Linked DNA regions of Homo sapiens: regions 1, 2, 3, 5 and 6 are each linked to region 4. The links are contacts of gene promoters, found by promoter capture Hi-C in human tissues and cell types (Jung and others, 2019). All regions are on one chromosome and are shown on one strand. The core of a region is centred on a gene start or on the middle of the fragment in contact, and the rest is flanking DNA. Distances in the headings are between cores, read along the strand shown.

Evidence for each region. Contacts are between HindIII fragments. The study calls those that stand out against the background at their distance.
Region 1: a fragment that was not itself captured here is called in contact with the fragment with the promoter of FAM227B in region 4 in 1 of the 25 tissues and cell types used here (mesenchymal stem cells).
Region 2: a contact is called between a fragment that was not itself captured here and the fragment with the promoter of FAM227B in region 4, in 2 of the 25 tissues and cell types used here (dorsolateral prefrontal cortex and mesenchymal stem cells).
Region 3: a contact is called between a fragment that was not itself captured here and the fragment with the promoter of FAM227B in region 4, in 2 of the 25 tissues and cell types used here (IMR-90 fibroblasts and lymphoblastoid cells).
Region 5: a contact is called between a fragment that was not itself captured here and the fragment with the promoter of FAM227B in region 4, in 5 of the 25 tissues and cell types used here (H1 embryonic stem cells, bladder, mesenchymal stem cells and 2 more).
Region 6: a contact is called between a fragment that was not itself captured here and the fragment with the promoter of FAM227B in region 4, in 1 of the 25 tissues and cell types used here (mesenchymal stem cells).

The regions. Positions count from the first base shown.
Region 1 is chr15:49,906,621-49,909,685 of GRCh38, reverse strand. The region is part of intron 20 of ATP8B4 (ATPase phospholipid transporting 8B4 (putative)); the gene reads left to right. Among named protein-coding and RNA genes, the nearest start is that of ATP8B4, 210 kb to the left of the region's middle. RefSeq lists an enhancer at 10-510. The HindIII fragment of the contact is 6,171 bases long and covers 1-3,065 here.
Region 2 is chr15:49,924,670-49,927,650 of GRCh38, reverse strand. All of the region lies in intron 16 of ATP8B4 (ATPase phospholipid transporting 8B4 (putative)), which reads left to right. Among named protein-coding and RNA genes, the nearest start is that of ATP8B4, 190 kb to the left of the region's middle. The HindIII fragment of the contact is 3,396 bases long and covers 1-2,981 here.
Region 3 is chr15:49,947,303-49,950,345 of GRCh38, reverse strand. All of the region lies in intron 14 of ATP8B4 (ATPase phospholipid transporting 8B4 (putative)), which reads left to right. Among named protein-coding and RNA genes, the nearest start is that of ATP8B4, 170 kb to the left of the region's middle. The HindIII fragment of the contact is 8,482 bases long and covers 1-3,043 here.
Region 4 is chr15:49,618,961-49,622,199 of GRCh38, reverse strand. It overlaps FAM227B (family with sequence similarity 227 member B), which reads left to right and starts at 1,382. Exons shown (of 16, transcript NM_152647.3): 1 at 1,382-1,500. DTWD1 (DTW motif tRNA-uridine aminocarboxypropyltransferase 1) reads right to left here and starts at 1,152. Exons shown (of 5, transcript NM_001144955.2): 1 at 1,078-1,152. RefSeq lists an enhancer at 921-1,040. The HindIII fragment of the contact is 10,713 bases long and covers 1-3,239 here.
Region 5 is chr15:49,345,241-49,348,239 of GRCh38, reverse strand. All of the region lies in intron 13 of FAM227B (family with sequence similarity 227 member B), which reads left to right. It also overlaps a transcript of GALK2 not described here. Among named protein-coding and RNA genes, the nearest start is that of FGF7, 77 kb to the left of the region's middle. The HindIII fragment of the contact is 4,860 bases long and covers 1-2,999 here.
Region 6 is chr15:49,302,304-49,305,592 of GRCh38, reverse strand. All of the region lies in intron 8 of GALK2 (galactokinase 2), which reads right to left. Among named protein-coding and RNA genes, the nearest start is that of FGF7, 120 kb to the left of the region's middle. The HindIII fragment of the contact is 4,481 bases long and covers 1-3,289 here.

The DNA of each region.
Region 1 (3,065 bases), core at 467-2,966, 290 kb before region 4:
GGCTTAGGGTGTGGTTGTTAATGGAGACTGTAGTGAAGTTTTATTGGGCATGGGGACAGCAGGTGGGACAGTCCTTGGGCCCCAGTGGGAGCAGTGGTAGGCTGAGCCTGCCTGTCTTTGGGTCCAAGGGTAGCACATTTGGCACTGGCATTAGTGTGTCCTGGTGGGATGATTCTTGGGCCACCAGGAGGCTTGCTCAGGTGACAGCAGTAGAAACAGTGGGCTGGACCTTGGGCCCCTGGGCTGCAGGCATGGCATAGGCAATGGCAGTAGCAGTGGTTGGACAACTCTCTGGCTCCCAAATAGCCTATGCTGGTGTTGGCAGTGGCTGTGACAGGCTGGTCAGGCCATTCCCCAGGTCCACGGGTGGTAAGTGCAGGTGGGTGCTAGCTGTGGTGGTAGTGGCAGGCTGGGTTAGTCTGTCTTCCAGTCTCTGGGAGGAGTGGTCATGATGGTGGATGGAGCCACGGCAGTGGATGGTGGATGGAGCAGGGTGATCCCCAGGCCCCTAGGTGGTATGCTCAAGTACTGGGGTGGGGGGTATGGAGTGCGGTCAAAGCCAGACTGGACAGACCTGTCTGTATGTTCCCCTTCTCCCCGCTGTCCAGTGGTATGTATGGGTGCTGGCTGTGGTGGCAGGGACAGGGTTATCCCAAGGCCTCTGGTGGAATGCTCAGGTGGGGGTGGCAGTAGCTGCACTCTGGCCGTGCTGGCTGCTGGGGTGAGTGGGATTGCTTTTAGTAGTAGCAGCCTTAGGCAGGTGGCTGGGAAGTGTGTGCTTTGGCTGTAGGTGGCAGCTATATGTAAGGTAGCCTATCCTTAGGGCATGTGGAAATGTGAGGAAGTCCTGTTGCTGGAAGGGTAGTGGGGTTGCTGTCAGCGTCTTGCACTTTGGCCATGGTGGCAGTGGTGGCAGTGGTGGTGGCTGCAGGTGGGGAATGTCAGTGGAGCTCCAGGAATGTGGAAAGCCAAGTACTGTTGGGCCCTCAGGCAGGATGCAGTCTGGTGGGGCTGGGCTCTCAAAATGACACTTTGCTGTCATTTTGTGGTATGTGGGACCCAGTGTGAGCTCCCTCTCTGGGGCAATGGCACTGCCTTGTCTTCAGGCAGCTCCCTATGTTAATTTCAGGGTCTGAAAGGGTTGAGAGGCTCTCCTATGGCTAGGAGTGGAGTCTGTGGTGAGATTGTGGACCACTGGGCATCCCTCACTTATACTTTCCCTACACAGGAGAGCCTTTCTGGGCTCCCAGCCAGACAGGATGCCTTGTTTCCCTCTTCTTCTTTTAGGTGTTTCCTGTCACTTCTCTCTTGAACTCCAATATTTTCTCTTAGATGACATATTTGAAGTATGATTATCTACTCTCTATCTTGGTGCTTCTTTGTGGAGGAGGCAACTGCCAGATGCCTTTAGTCGTACATCTTGAAGGACCACTCTCATTCAGAACTTGACTCTTGCTGAAGGAAGATAGATGCAAACAGATCTAGATTTTAATAAGCCTGTTGCTAAATGTTTTGAGACAGTGCCTGGAAGAGTATTGTAGGCAGTACACATGTATTACCTCATTTTGTTCTTAAGAAACTCAATCGTAGGCATTACTGTTTTCCCTGTTGGACATATGAGGAAGTCGAAGTATATAGAGGGTAAGTAACTTGCCCAAAGTAGTCCGTGGTTCAGGTGGGATGTGAATCTAGGCAGCTTGGTCCCAGAGGCTGTGCACTTGCCATGTGTTTCCCTAAACATACCTCAGATTTATTTTTATTCCCTTTAATAATTAACCTAAAAATATAGTTGTTAAGGTATCTTACTGCTTCACTTGAGTAAATGGTCAGACACCAGATTAGCAAGTAGAGTCAGCAGAAATTTCCAGGGGAAATAGCAGATGTAGGAGAAAGAGTATGGGCTTCATGTCAGCTGGATTCAAGTTGGAATCTCAGCTTCATGCTTAGGCTGAGTGGGAAACTTTTGATATGGGAATAACCTCTGTTTGCTTGGTTTCCTTATTTGTAAAATGGGGATACAAATATCTACTCTATATCTTATTTTATTTGGGGGATTAGATAAGAACTTAAAGCTTTATGACTGTTCCATGCGCATCTTTCTTGCCTTCCTCATTCCTTGTCTATTTCCTCCCTTCTCCCTTCCTTCATTCTTTCAGCCACTGATCCCAATCTTTCCACCAACAAGGACTACTTTTGTAACTATTTCCCCAATAAGGGCAGCAGGCCTGAAACAGTGGGGAAGGAAAGGGTAGAATAAAATAGACAGCTTTTTGGAGGTAGAATGAATAGGTCTTGTAATTTGATTGGATGTGAAGAGAAATAGTAGGAGGCTTTGTCACTGCTAGGTTTCACAGCCCAGAGTGTGCTCAGGCATGCAAGAATAGAAACTCATTAAATTTTCTAAAACTGAACTTGAACCTCTTTCTGTCTGAGGACAGAACAATTAAACTAGGCATTTTCAGTTAAATTTAGTTCAAGTCTGGGATGTACAATTGCCTCACCTGTTACTGTTCATCAGTGTCTACCCTGCTGGCATCCAGCACTTCCCACGTCTGTGTTCCTGTCTGGTCTCTGCTCTCTTAGGGTTGTTGTTGGCTTTCCCTCTTGGCTGACTTCCACACTCTGCTGGGGAACCATGGAAAGTGTGGCTGCTCTTCCTCACCTCTCTATGCCCAAGATGACTTGTGTTCTTATATGGCCACTTCAGTTTCTAAAATCCCTTTACTCTGCTGATTCCCCTAAATTTATCTGAGGATTCCATTAGCCACATGGTTCCTTCATCCACTACCAATCCAGGGGCGGGTCAGGACCCCGGCTTTTTTTAGCCATCACTTATCAGTTTCTAAACTCCTCAAAGTCCCCTTTCCCTAGGCTGGGATGGGAAATGAAGGAAAGTAATTTCTTCCTACTCTGCTCCTTTTGTCATCATTTTAATGCCTTGACTCATTTAAAGTTTATTCTTTTGATACTTAAAGAAATCCCCCCCTTCTTTTTCCAAAAGTCCAATTAGTGAAATTCCAGATTGCTGAAATTCAGACTAATGATGCTGCTATGAGTTTCAAAGC
Region 2 (2,981 bases), core at 239-2,738, 310 kb before region 4:
CATTGGTCACCATTACAGGCTGTGGAGAAATTGCAGCCTAACCACAAACATCAGATGTTTGCCTTAATGGATCCCATATGAGGAAAGGTAGTGCTCTACCACAGAATGCATGAAGGTTTGCTGGATTTATTTTTATTCTGCTTGGTTTTTAATCAGGAGGATTTTTAGAGGGACTCTACCAGGGCAGAAAAGTCTTTGCATGATAACAAGGCAGAAAACAATCCTGGTCTCATGATCGTCACATGGGTTGGTCTGTAGGAACAACACCCTGATGCAAAGGCTCAGGCATTGCTTCTGTTGCTGCTGATCCTCCCCTTTCTCCTCCTCCCTCTTCTGCTTCCTTGTTTTTGGGTGGCAGCCATTATTCACTAAATCATCAATGTATAATTTCAATACCAGTAGTACTTTCATTCTGAAGAAAGAGCCCTGATTTAAGTCAGAAGTATCTACATAAAAATTGATTTCTATAAAGGATTTTTTTCCAGAGGGAACAGAATATACTATATTAGTAAAAAATATAAATGACATTATATAGTTTTGGAAGGACCAATTCTACTAATTCTGTAAATAGAAATACAGAGATAAAATTCAGAGGTGGCTATTAACAGGGGCAAGTGGCAGATAACCATTAAAGAAGAAGAAATTACAAGAAGCTTCTTGGAAGGCTCTTACGAGATCTTTAGATAAAAGTTGCTCAACTCTAAACTTTTTCAAGATTATCAAAGTACAAATCACACTGTCATGTGACAGGCATTTCTCTGTGTAGATGTATGAACAGCGGCGATATGGCAAAATAGAATTATTTACCACCCTTCACAGTGCTGCTGTTGCATCTAACTGGAAGCCATTTGTGACATTTTTTCTTTCCTTTATGTCACAAAGGCATAGCTTCTGCTTTCAATAAATTGTGCACAATTTTGGTTCATCTTAATTAAGTAAATATTGATTTAAGTTCCCCATATGTTCCAGGGCCTTCAAGCTAAGGGAGAATGTGAAAAGTTGAAAGGTAGTTCTATGTGGCTGCCTCCAAGAGAACATGGTAAAACAGACTGGATAGTGCAGCTGTTAATAAGCTCTATATGTCATGTCAAGGAGTCCAAACTTAATAGAAGGGAGAGGGAAGCTATTGCAGGATTCTAAGCAGCAGCATGAAGATGACTGTAACTGGAATATACAGAAGAGTCTGGAAGGAAGCAGTACTGGAATGGGTAAAACCAGTTAGGTTAAAGTGATTTTCTAGGCAAGAGAGAAGTGGCAAGAGAAATCCGTAGCTTCCCTTAGATGTATGGTTGGTGAAGGGAGAACTGTGAGTGATGCCTAGATTTCTGATTTGGGAGACTGAATGGATGGTGAAGCTGATTACTAAGACTGGGGATATAAGAGGAGTAGCTAATTATTGGAGGAGGGTAATATGTCCAGTATGAGTTTGGTGTGCTTGAGCATATCCAAGAGATTTTCAACTGGTAGTCGGATGTGCAGGTCAGAATGGAGTGCTAGAGATGGATTGGACAGGAGATACACATTTGAAAACAGCCTGGTGTTGGAACCTGAAGCCATAGAAATGATGCAGTTGCCCAGGGACAGTATGAAGGATGGGAAGATAAAAAAAAGACCCCAAGTAAATCTCTGAAGAACACTAATATTTAAATGGAAAGCATTGGGAGAAGATTTTATAACCTAAAAACTGTAACCTTTGTCCAAGTTCTGGCCATATGTTATCGTGACCATTTAAAACTATGTCCTTTTTAGTTTATTTAAGAAATACTAACTTCTGAAATGACTTAGATTTTATTAACTTTGAACAGAAACGACCAGAAGGCTTGGAAGAAAAGAGATATAAAACTTGCTGCTAAAGCAAATGTTTAATGAGTAAACATAAGCAGGATTCCATGAAATTGGATTTCCACAAAATCAAATTTAAAGGGACAAATACTAGGTTAAGGGAAAGTATCAGGGATGGAAAGTATTTATTGAATCAGAAAATTGTACTGCTGCAAAGGACCTTTGAAGTTAGATTGTTTAAACATCTCCTTTTTACATGTAGAAACTAAGATACAGTGATGGTAAGGGATTTACACAAATCACAATCAGTTTGTGATTCTTCCAGACCAGTGATTCTAAATGTGTGGTCCAGGGAACCTTAGGGAACTTTGTGAGTTTTTCAGAGGATGCACAAGGACAAAAGTATTTTCATTATAATATCACTATTATTTATCTTTTTCATTCTTTTTCTCATGAGTATACCATGGAGTTTTGCAGAAGCCACGTGACATGTGATGTCACAACAGAATGAATGCAGAAACAGATATGGGAATCCAACCCTCTTTTATTAAACTAGATGTTACAAAGATCTGTAATCATGTAAAATAATGCCAATCTCCAAACTAATATTTTTTGGAAAATATAGTTTTTTTATAGAAATGTTATTTATGCTTATATGTTAGATTTACAATAATAATAATTATAGTAACTAGTGTTATAAAACTGATATAATAAAATTTCTCATTTTTAATTTCTAATATGGATATTGATAGATAACATTCACTTAAAAAAACTTTTTAGAATCCTCACTCAGCATTGAAAAATTATAAAGAAGGTCCTGAGACCATAAGTTAGAGAACTAATGTCCTAGTCTAGAATACAAAATACAGGCAAATGTAGGTTATTCATCGTTTGCCTTTATACCTCTGGTGTTGGAAGGGAGAAAATATAAGGGAAATTATTCAATTGGATTATTGTACAAGAAAATCAAGAGAGAGTCTTTCCTAGGATTAAGTTTCCCCCCCTGGTTTAACAATTAGATAAATTGCATATGTTTTTCTCTTTCTTTTTCCCCAATGTAGGGGTTAGAGCTAGAGTACAAGAAAACCCACATGAGTTCTGGCAATTAGGCAAGCTAACCAAGGGTCTTAAAACAGAAGACAAGACCTAGACAAGGCCCAGTCCTAAAAAGCTTCCAGGGTATGTTATTAGATCTATGT
Region 3 (3,043 bases), core at 248-2,747, 330 kb before region 4:
ATAACAAGCTCTGAAATTGAGGCAGTAATTAATAGCCTACCAACCAAAAAAAGCCCAGGACCAGACAGATTCACAGCTGAATTGTACCAGAAATACAAGGAGGAGCTGGTACCATTCCTTCTGAAACTATTTCAAACAATTGAAAAGGAGGGACTCCTCCATACTCATTTTATGAAGCCAGCATCATCCTGATACCAAAACCAGGAAGAGACACAACAAAAAAAGAAAACTTCAGGCCAATATCCCTGATGAATATCGATGCAAAAATCTTCAATAAAATACTGGCAAACTGAATCCACCAGCACATCAAAAAACTTATCCACCATGATCAAGTCAGCTTCATCCCTGGGATGCAAGGCTGGTTCAACATATGCAAATCAATAAACATAATCCATCACATAAACAGAACCAAAGACAAAAATCACATGATTTTCTCAATAGATGCAGAAAAGGCCTTTGATAAACTTTAACATCCCTTAATGTTAAAAACTCTCGATAAGCTAGGTATTGATGGGACATATCTCAAAATAATAGCTATTTATGACAAACCCACAACCAATATCATATTGAATGGGCAAAAGCTGGAAGCATTCCCTTTGAAAACCAGTGCAAGATGCCCTCTCTCACCATTCCCATTCAACATAATATTGAAAGTTCTGGCCAGGGTAGTCAGGCAAGAGAAAGAAATAAAGGGTATTCAAATAGGAAGAGAGGAAGTCAAATTGTCTTTGTTGGCATACGATATGATTTTATATTTAGAAAACCCCATCGTCTCAGCACAAAAACTTCTTGAACTGATAAGCAACTTCAGCAAAGTCTCAGGATACAAAATCAATGTGCAGAAATCACAAACATTCCTTTACACCAACAATAGGCAAGCAGAGAGCCAAATCATGAATGAACTCGCATTCACAATCACTACGAAGAGAATAAAATACCAAGGAATACAGCAAACAAAGGATGTGAAGGACTTCTTCAAGGAGAACTACAAACCACTGCTCAAGGACATAAGAGAGAACACAAACAAATGGGAAAACATTCCATGCTCATGGATAGGAAGAATCAATATCATGAAAATGGCCATACTGCCCAAAGTAATTTATAGATTCAATGCTATTCCCATCAAACTACCATTGTCATTCTTCACAGAATTAGAAAAAGCTATGTTAAATTTCATATGGAATCGAAGAAGACCCTGTATAGCCAAGACAATCCTAAGCAAAAATAACAAGGCTGGAGGCATCATGCTACCTGACTTCAAACTATACTACCAGGCTACCATAACCAAAACAGCACAATACCAGTACCAAAACAAACATATAGACTAATGGGGCAGAACAGACACCTCACAAATAAGACCACACATTTACAACCATCTGATCTTCGACGAACCTGACAAAAACAAGCAATAGGGAAAGGATCTTCTATTCAGCAGAAGAAAACCTAGGCAATACCATTCAAGACATAGACATGGGCAAAGACTTCATTACAAAAATGCCAAAAGGAATTGCAACAAAATCCAAAATTGACTGATGGGATGTAATTAAACTAAAGAGCTTCTGCACAGCAAAAGAAACTATCATCAGAGTGAACAGGCTACCTACAGAATGGGAGAAAAATTTTGCAATCTACCCATCTGACAAAGGTCTAATATCCATAATTTACAAGGAACGTAAACATATTTGCAAGAAAAAGACAACTCCATCAAAAAGTCGGCAAAGTATATGAACAGACACTTCTCAAAAGAAGACATTTACATGGCTAACAAACATATGAAAAAAAGCTCAACAGGCTAGTAACCCCTTATCAGATATATGATCTGCACATATTTCCTCCTATTCCATAAGTTGCCTTTTCACTCTGTTGATTATTTCCTTTGCTGAGCAGTCTTTTTTTTGAGACAGAGTCTCACTCTGTCACCCAGGCTGGAGTGCAGTGGCACAATCTTGGCTCACTGCAACCTCCATCTGCCAGGTTCAAACAATTCTCCTGCCTCAGCCTCCCAAGTAGCTGGGACTACAGGCGAGTGCCACCATGCCTGGCTGATTTTTTTTTTTTTTTTTTGTATTTTTAGTAGAGACAGGGTTTCACCATGCTGGCCAGGCTGGTCTCGAACTCCTGACCTCCTGATCTGCCGCCTCGACCTCCCAAAGTGCTGGGATTACAGGCATAAGCCATTGCGCCCAGTCCTGAGCAGAGACTTTTACATTTGATATAGTTCCACTTATTTGTTTTTGCTTTCATTGTCTGTGCTTTTGTTGTCATGTCTATGCAAGAAGTCATTGTCGAGACCATTGTTATGAAGCTTTTCTTCCATATTTTCTTCTAGGAGTTTTATAGTTGCAGGGATTATGTTTCAATTTTCAATGTATTTTAATTTGATTTTTGTGTTAGATGTAAGATAATGGTCCATTTTTTTCTTTTGCCTGTGCATATCTAGTTTTCCTCACTCTGTTGAAAAGACTATCCTTTCCCTGCTGTATAGTCTTGGAACCCTTGTTGAAATTCATTCATCTGTTTATGTGTGGGTTTATTTCTGTGTTCTCTATTCTATTCCACTGGTCTGTGTCTGTCTTTACTGGGGATACCAGTACCCCACTGCTTTGATGACTGTAGCTTGTAACATGTTTGAAATCAGGAATTGTGAGGACCCCAGCTTGGTCCTTCTTCCTCAAGATAGTTTTGGCTATCTGGGGTCATTTGTGGTTCCATATCAATTTTAGAATTTTTTTTATACTTCTGTAAAAAAATACCATTGAAATTTTGATGGGGATTTCTATGGTTCACTTTGGGCAATATGGAGATTTTAACAATATTAAGTCTTCTACTCCATGACCATTGGATACATATTCATTTATTTGTGTCTTTAATTGCTTTCATCAATGTTTTCTTTTTTTTTTTTTTTTTTGAGACAGAGTCTCACTCTGTCGCCAGTCGCCAGGCTGGAGTGCAGTGGTGAGATCTCAGCTCACTTGCAACCTCTGCCTCCCAGGTTCAAGTGATTGCTCTGCCTCAGCCTCCCAAGTAGCTGGGACTACAGGCA
Region 4 (3,239 bases), core at 133-2,632:
TCACCTATTCCTGATTCTTATGCAACAGCAGGAACTCAACAAACACTTGTTAACTAAATCAAAACCATTCTGCAAAACACATCCAGTAAGCATCTCACTACTGAAGTATCTGACAAACTACCTTTATGGGCCGTCTGCAGCCTAGCACAAGTGGCAGGCTGGCAATTTTTTTTTCTCCAAAATAATAACAAAAAGCTTCTACCTCTTCCATTATTGTAAGCTGACTCACCTCCCAATGGAACACTATACAGACTCCCCTGTCCTATATTGTGGACCAATTCAGTATTAGAAAAAAACCACTTCCAATTTTCTTTAGAGTGTTTTTAAGAACTTGGTCACATAGGACCTACAGGTCCAACATTCATTTTTCATAATCCAAGGTAGTAGTACCCTTTTTCATATAGGATCAATGGCCTCTCCCACACCACCCGCCATATGGTAACAAACTGTCTTGCCTTCGTTTTCATGGTGCACTGGGTTAGTCCTTACATGCTGCGATCTACAGTATTGATTTTACCATCCAACTTTGTGGGCCTGGCGACTGAAAATGTTAATATACTTCCTTATTTGTCCTACATTCCCAATAAATAATTTAGACGTAAGAAACAGGCTCTTTTGCTTATTATGTAACCACAACCTCAATATTTTAAATACACTGCATGGCATCACTAATTCTACGTCTGTACTACGCTTCCCCTTCCGTGATAACCAAACCCCCACAAACCACTCCAAATACTAAAAATAAAATAAAATAAAGTATGGGGTTCCTAGGGAACTGACTTTGCCAGGACATACTTTTCGTTGGGGCGGAATGCACCGAAAATCATTGGTAGGAAAAATAATTTTTTTTTTGAGGAAAAATTTGGAAACCTTTTTCCCAAAGGGCCCGCAAGATCCTAAAAAAAGCAAGAGACCGCGCAGAAACCGAGGATCCCCCTCACAGGCGACACCCAGCGCGACCTCCGCTAGGGTCCTGACAAAGAATGTCCACTTCCCGCGGCCGCACCTCTGGGGCCAGACCACTGGTCTCCAGAGAGGCGCGGGGACCTCCACCAGGGATCGGAGTGGTACTCAGACCTGCACACCCGCGAGTCCTCGAACAGCTCCACACGTCTCCAGCTCCGCCCGAGCCCGAGCCACGCGCCGGGCCGTGATCGCGCACGGACCAGACGGAGCGCTTTCCGGGAGACACCAGAGGGAGGAGCCAGGCAGTTACTAGCGTCGTTGCTAAGGCAGGGGCCGCGCACACCGCACACCGCGCGGCTTAAGCAACAGGCTGGGACGACAGCGGGGGGGGGGTTAGACGGGAAGTTCCGCCTCAGCCTCTCAATCAGCGGCGGTGTCGCACTTCTCCCGAGAGGCTCCGGCGAGGGGCAGGGCCGCGTTCGTCCGGGACCCGCCTCAAGCCTCGCAGCCTTTCACCCAGTTTCCTCCCGATTCTTGCTGGGACAACAAAATTGGGAAGCGGTTCTCGAAACATACTGTCAAGGCGTAGTTGCAGTGAGTTGTGAAGAAATGTTGATCCCAGAGAAAAGTTTGCATTTTGCCCACCTCAAAGATATTTTGATTGTGAGAACTTGGTTACATTAGTCTTTCGTGGCTATATCAATATCATTATTTCGTGTGCTGTGTGGTAATGAAAGCTATTAGAAAAATCATTTGTATCTTAATGATTTAGTTTGCATAAAAACACGCATATAGAGTTAAGAGTACTTTGTGTTTTTCCACTTTGAAGTATAATATGTGGATAAGTTATTAGAACATTTGTCCGTGCCTCTCCCCAAACAATGCGCAAACGGAAGTGCACTCTAACAACTAAGATTTTAAAACACAATGGTCAAATGTTGAGCAATGTTTTATTGACTACTCTGAATTTATCAAGTGGTAGATAAAGGACATTACAATGCCCTAGAAGTGCTCACGATATCAAGTAAAGCATGTTAAATTCAAGTACAGAAAATGCAATATTCTTACTACTGAGATAAAAAATGGAATTTAATAAATTACAGGAATTTCAAGAAAGCTGAGAATGGAGTGGTCAATAAAGGCTTCTTTTTCGGACTTGGGTAAGGCCTTGAAGAATGATTTAGGTTTAGGACAGTGTTTTTCAACTGGAAAGGGGATTGTGTGGGACCCATTAGTGGAGGTCTTGACCCATTTGTAAGCAAGGAAATCTCTTTAAACTTAAAAAAAAGAAACAATATAGATTGGAAATATCAGCGCATGTAAGTAAATTTAGTGTTAGTTAGTAAAGTACTGCTTTATGGAGCTTTTAATTGTATATATGCGTGTATGTGTGCACTAGGGCTTGTTTGTAAAATGTATTTCTTACTGTATTTCAAACCTTAAAAAGTTTGAAAGCCAGTGATTTAGGGAGAAAGGTGAATTTTCTGGGTAGGGAAAGTAGAATAGCAAAGTCTATAAGCCAAGAAGAATTCACAACCATTTTCCTTTTTAGTTTAACTCTAAATTTTATCAAAGTAGTTAAATTGCACAGATTAAAAAGCAAATAATACTACTTGTTAGATTGAGCATTGGGTTGCTATCGTATGTAATAAATTACTCCAAAATATGGTGGCTTAAAACAACCATTTTATTATGTTCACAGGTGGTGTTGTCAATAGGGCATAGTCATCAGCTTTTCTTTGGTAACTCAATTAGAAAGACTAGAGTGGGCATGCTAGCAGAGCTTCTGTAACTATATGGCCGGGGTTTCCTCACAGTATGGCAGCAAGGTAGTCAGACTTCTTAGCTTAAACTCAGAGCTCCAAAGGGAGTGTTGCAATGAACAAGGCAAAAATTGCCTGACCTTTTCTGACCTTGCCTCAAAAAGTAACGCGGTGCTACTTCCCCCACTTTCTTTTGCTTACAAATGTGTCAAAGTCCTGTTCCATTTTAGGAAAGGAGACATAGATCCCTCTTCTCAAAGGATTGGCAAAGATTTCTTGTCCATGTTTTAAAACCAGCATAGTGAATTTACTTCTGTAACAGAAAACCCCAAAATATCGGTGGTTTAATACACTTTTTTTTTTCCTCACAAAAGATCCATTGTGGCTATTTCTAGGCAGACGAAATGTTAAATTCAAGGCCAGATGTTTTTATTTTTAATGGTTCTGCTGCCTTCTAGGACTAGCTTGTTTGACAAGAAAGAAAGTATGGCAAATTACCCAAGGTTAACTCTAAAAATGACATGTATCAATTTGGCCACATTCTGTTGGCCAGAATTTAGTCCCAAGGCC
Region 5 (2,999 bases), core at 233-2,732, 270 kb after region 4:
TGGGAATAGCCAAAGTCCTTCAAAGCAACCCTTGGAGCTGTCTCTGTTAAAGGACATAAATTATAAAAATGCTGGAATTTCTGTAAATCAACAACTTGTTTATCCAGCCTTATCAGGGAGTGATCTGTGGCCCATAATTAAATTTTCCAGATAACTAAAGCTGATCATTTGAAGCACTAACACTTTTTATGTTAGCCTTTTTTTTTTTTTTTTTTTTTTTGAGACAGAGTTTTGCTCTTGTCACCCAGGCTGGAGTGCAATGGTGCAATCTCAGCTCACTGCAGCCTCCACCTCCCAAGATCAAACAATTCTCCTGCCTCAGCCTCCCGAGTAGCTGGGACTACAGGCATCTGCCACCACGCCCAGCTAATTTGTATATTTTTAGTAGAGACGGGGTTTCACCATGTTGGCCAGGCTGGTCTTGAACTCCTGACCTCAGGTGATCCACCCACCTTAGCCTCCCAAAGTGTTGAGATTACTGGCGTGAGCCACCATGCCTGGCCAATGTTATCCATTTTAATGGAAGTTTTCATTGAAGGTTATCAATACTTCTCTGACTTCTTTAACAAAGTAGCAAAAACTAATTAACTTTATGATAATAACTAAGCTTCTCAGGATGAAATCTATAACTCAACTGCACCTAGATACCAATAAGAATACTCGTTCAGTATGCAAAGAACAGTAAACATTTACTGTTTGTTTTACCAAATACCTGTTACATACCAGCACTGATACTAGTATGAGGGTGCTAAGCAATCTAATAGCAAAGACAGGGAAATAGGGTCATCAATAATCTGTCCTATACATAGAATGCTATAGTAGAAAGGAGAAGCACCTTCATCTACTTTTAAACAACCCTGCACTAAAAGCATAGATCACTAAGCTGTTACAGTCTTTATTCCTAAATTTTATAGTTCTTCTGTCTCCTACTTCAAAAATGTTGTCACTTCTTATTCTTACTAATTTCTTAAGGGCAAAACACCATGTCTCTACTTATTTTTGTGTCTCCATGCCTAATACAAGTCCTGGCAATTTTGTTGAATTATTTTACTTGAATAAGTGTTAATGTTTTCAATAGCCCTTCCCTCAATTTCCTGAGTATACTACAAAACTGCTGATAATGATGTATTAAATAGTGAAACTTACTAGAACTGCAATCCTATTTTACATATAATTCTAGGCCATTTAGAATCTGGGTAAGATTCCAACAATGATGTTATTTCCTATAGAGTAAGTCACATGTGCTTATAACCTTTTAAAAAATGTTTTTGATACATGGATGTTGGGTAAACTACAAATCTAACATTAAAATATTTTACTTATAGGCAAAGGTAAACATTAAACAGAATATAACTGCTCTAAGATCAGTTTAGGCCACATGCTAATAAGCTTATTTCAAGAATGTAGTTTTTAGGATTAAGAACTAAGTGCATTCTAGTGTATAAAGTAGGAGATTCTGGCCACAGCTTGCTGCCTAGCTTCCTTTTACTTGTTATACAATTAGCATTATGTGTATAATGGGCACTTTCGCCTTAAGCCTGAGATGCTCAGAAACAACTCTGAGGATAATCCAAAGACTATCTCTAAGGGATACAAGATAGACAGCAAAGCCTCCTGAAGCTTCATTCTGTTATCACCGAGGTCCAGGTCTGTTCTGCCCATGCACAGTGAATCAATCACTGTGACACAGGTTTTGCAAAAGAGAAAAGATTTATTGGCAAAGCTGCCAAGCAAGGAGGCAGGAGAACAGCTCTCACATCTACTTCCCCTAAAATAAGGCTTAGGGATATTTTTGGGTTAGGGAAATGGGGGTGGCCTTAGGTGTGGGGAAAGGTGATTGGCAATGGGGAAAATGAAGTAACAGGTTCATTCTGTGCAAGCATAGTCAGGCTTCATAGCATTTTGTAGGACATATGTATAGAAAATCGTGTTAGCACAACCTGAGGGTAGAGTTTTTGGCCCTCCATGGTCAAAAGGCCATTTGTTGCGCACTTGCGCAGGCCCAGCTCAAGGGCTGGTGGTCTCAACCAGTTTGAATTGGACAGGAGCTGGCCCAAGTTTCTGAAAAACAACGGAAGTGTTGTTTTGGTGAACTATGGATGGTATCTATCAAGCAGCCAGTAAAGGTTAAGTTTCGTGTTCAGCAGCATGGCTTTCAGCTTCATGGAAAAAGGAAAAAAAAAAAAAATAACAAAAGCAAGTGACCAAAAGCAAGCAGGGCAGGCAGACCTGATCAAATTAACCTCTTGGTTTCAATTCTAGGACAATACTTTTGGCAGATAAGTACGAAATTTGCCCCTGGGCCATTCTTTTCCTGAGTCTCTCACACACACTCAATCTCTCAAAGGCAAGGTACTTCACTTCTAGAAGCTTCAGTTTCTTCATTTCTAATCTAATTAAATTGGATCCTACAATTTCCAAAACCCTTTGTTTCTCTAATATTCTGTGATTATAAAGGGAGATGAAAGACCCCAGAGTCCTGAGTTGAGAAGGTCTTAGTTTGTTACATCCCAACCACTGTTGTGAAGTCCCAGAAAAGGACTATTTTATTTGTCCCCAAGTGAATCTTCCATTCAGTGGCTTACCATATAGCAGTGCATGGGAATATAAAGTATGAGGCCAATTCAGATGGTGGAATTGAAAAACATGTTGCCACATTCATCCCCAAGGAGTAGAATATAACCATTGTTCATAATGTATATGGTCTAAGTATTCTGTTTTATCTAATTCGGAAAAAATTTATAGTTATAAGTGTCTAAAAAGAATAAAAGTTAAGATATTCATTAACACACTTCAACAGAAATCTACTGAAAACCATCACCACTGAGTTGTACAAGAAAATGCTAAGATTTCAGTCAACACCAACATCATGCAGCCCAGCACTTCATTATACAGCACAAATGTACAACCATGACCAAATTTTACAATTAGAATGACTTTATGAGGAACGTATGTCTACCCAGTTCATTTCAATAAAGTCATATGTTCAAAATTAATAA
Region 6 (3,289 bases), core at 320-2,819, 320 kb after region 4:
TAAAAGACTAAATTATATTGCTTTCCTATGTAGGTGGTCTCTGGTCTTTTTTACTGTTCCATCAGTGGCCCTTGACAGAATAAGGGTTTCCCAATATTAGAGAAGTCCTAATGGACTAAGGGTGTTAATCTTTGTGGTCTCTCCCATTCTAATCCTTTCTAAAGACAAAACAAGAAACCATCTTCCTCAAACATTTTCTAAAAAACTATGGAGCGTCTCTACCCTGAATATAGAGTGGTGGCCTGTCATATTTTCGTCTGAAACCTGCCACATGAATGATGATCAAATGAGATCTCATATGGTTAAACTGTTAGTGTCTATACACATACAATAGGTCATTATTTTTGTTGTCATTACTATTAATATTTGGCAATAACCTGCAAAAAGGCACTAGATCCATCCACAGTTACTCGCCTCAGCTGACTCTCCTGGAAACAAATGGCACAGTAGGTAGAAAATAGCATACAATTTCTAATTTAGAAATTATTAGGAAACTTTCTTCCACCTGAAGCTAAGTACTTTGAAAAAGGACTACAGAAATTGAACAACTAATAAACAGAAGAAGATGTTTTCTTGAACTAGGATATTAGAATGACTGGCTCCTGAAAAGAGACCATGAACTCTGCAAGACAGGGAAGAAAGTGACAAGCCATCATTACCAAGTAAGCTTTCACCAGATCATGTGCAGATAAAATGCCAGTATGAGAGAAATGTGTAACATAAAAAGAGATCACAGTATGTCTGTCTAATTCTTAAATGAAAATAACTTGAAATTTGATCAAGAGCAATATTCATTGTCCCAGATGTTTGGAAAAAATGTCAACTTCGTATTTGTATATGAGAAAGTAAATTGGTTCTCATTGGTATCACCAAGATTTGATGGGATGAGACTCATAGCCACTCAACATGGGAAAGTACAGTTGTCATTAGGCTGCTTCCAAATATTCCAGCTATCCTCACACATATTAAGACTGTACTACCTCACCCTCACTGAAGTTCATCACATCCATCTGACTGGCTTTGGCCAATCGAATGAGCATAGGGGTGATGCCAGTCACTCTGGCAGATGTTAAGAGCCAGAGAGCAATTAACAACATTACCTTCCTCCTGCCATGATTGTGGACAAACGTGTTGAGATGGAGCCCTCTGAGCCCAGCTCCATAAGTGTCTTAGATGAACAAACTCTTTTGCTGACTTATGTTAGATATAAAGAGTGAGTAAGAAATAAACTTTTGCTTGGTCAAGCCACTGAGACTTTGAAATTGTTTGTTACTGAAGCACAATCAGTTTGAGCTTACCAGTACAGGACAATCACTTTGACCAAAATAAATGAATTTCACCATAAGAAAAGCTGCTTTGTATACAAAGAGAACACTTACTTATGTGGAAACCTACAAAATGTAAAAATGAAAGCATAAGTAGCAAAAAAGGAAAATAGGATGGCAAGATGTTGGCCTCTTAGGTTGATGATGACTATAGAAGATGCTTTCCTATAGATGTTTCCAAACCAGCAGAGGAGTGACAGAGGAGACAATGAGATGTCCTTATATCTGCAGAAGCCTCATTCTACTCAAAACATAGTATCTAATAACTTCACAGCTGATCCTTTGATAATTTCACTCCTGAAAGACAGAGATACATCCATGATAAATTTAAGCAAAGGGAATACTGAGTAACATTTCCTTAGACTTAAATACATATATTTACAAGTTTAGAAATTATACATTTTCCTTTCCTTTTCTTCCCTTCCTTCCCCTTGAGGCAGCCACAAATGAGAAGACCAGCAAGGCTAGAGCCAAAGAAGCAGCTGGGGCTGAGGAGATGTACAGGAACTACAGGGTCAGAAACAAAGAGGCCTGCAAGGCTGGACCAAGGTGGTGGTCAGAGCTGAGGAGACCAAGGAGGCCAGTGATGCCAAGGCCAAGGAGGCAGCTGGAGTGAAGAAGATAGTTGGCAGGGTCAGGAAACCAGGTACATACAGGGAAAATGAGCAAATAAGTAAATATACTAAGAATGATGAGAGACATGTATTTTTCATGCTTCAAAGGTCTACATAGGAGCAGCTGGTGCCACGGCAGTTCATGCACATTGTTACTTCTCTGCTGGCCTCAGAAGCCAGAACCATGGTCACCATTAGCCTTGTGGGACAAGAGTCACACTGTGAGTACTGACCTACCTACCAGCGGCTGAGAAGCTGACCAACACACAACACAAATCACTGGTGTGATTCCAACACATGTCCTAGGCTCTTCCTACAGAAGTTGCAAGTTTTATGATGCCGTGCCTTTAAAAATCCTACTTAATAAGGTATGTTCACATTCATTTTTAGTTTTGAAGGGGGAAGGTGAACCAATGAATAGGGACATATCACGCACACATCTGAAAGAGGAAGTGGAATTTCCTGGTTATCTGCGATATCAGGTAAGCCCATTTTTTTTCCCTAGGAAACAAGGTAGGAACCTTTATTCCTGGCATGAACCTGTCCTCCACAGCCAGACAACTGAGAAGTCAATAGAAGCTGATGGGCAAAAGGAAGTGACCAGGCAGAGAGAGAAAGAAAAAAGGACTAATGAAAGCAAATTTTCTGCAAACTTGACTTCCAAAACAACTTAAAGAATAATATCTTTTGTGTGAAAGAAAAATCATTATTATTTGATTTATTCTTTTATACTTTGTTTTACAACAGTCTATTATTTTTCTCATAAAAACAAAAACAATAGACAAAACCAAAGGACCCATTTTATTGGCTTTCTCATTAGAAGTCCATCTCACAGATTTTAAGGATTTCTGTTCAACCAACATCTGTAAACTCTAGAAGGGTCTAAAACTTCCTTTGGAGTTTCGTCTAGCTTTCTATGGAAAACTTTTCTTCCAAAACATTTACAAGAAGAACAATGGAATCTGTTGAGATCACAGAGTTTAGTGCTTGATATCTTATAAGCTACATTTAAATCAATTTCCTTCATAATTGAGAACCCTCAACTGGACATTTAAATTACTAAACAACTGACCCTTTTTACATTGTAAAGCACCTTTATACTTTTTATTAGATAAAAACAAACTAATCTTCTTAGACTTAACCAAGATAATCTATGAGAACTGCATTTTTATTAAACGTGAAAATTCCATAGCACTTCTCATGGCTCTTCTAGAACACAACAGCTTATGCATATTATGGCCAAGTTGAGTTGTTCCTTAAATAAAGCAAGCTTCTAGATGCCACACAGTCTTATCTCTTCTAAGGCCAAAACACTAGAATGGGAAATAGCCATAAAGGAAACTCTTTGGA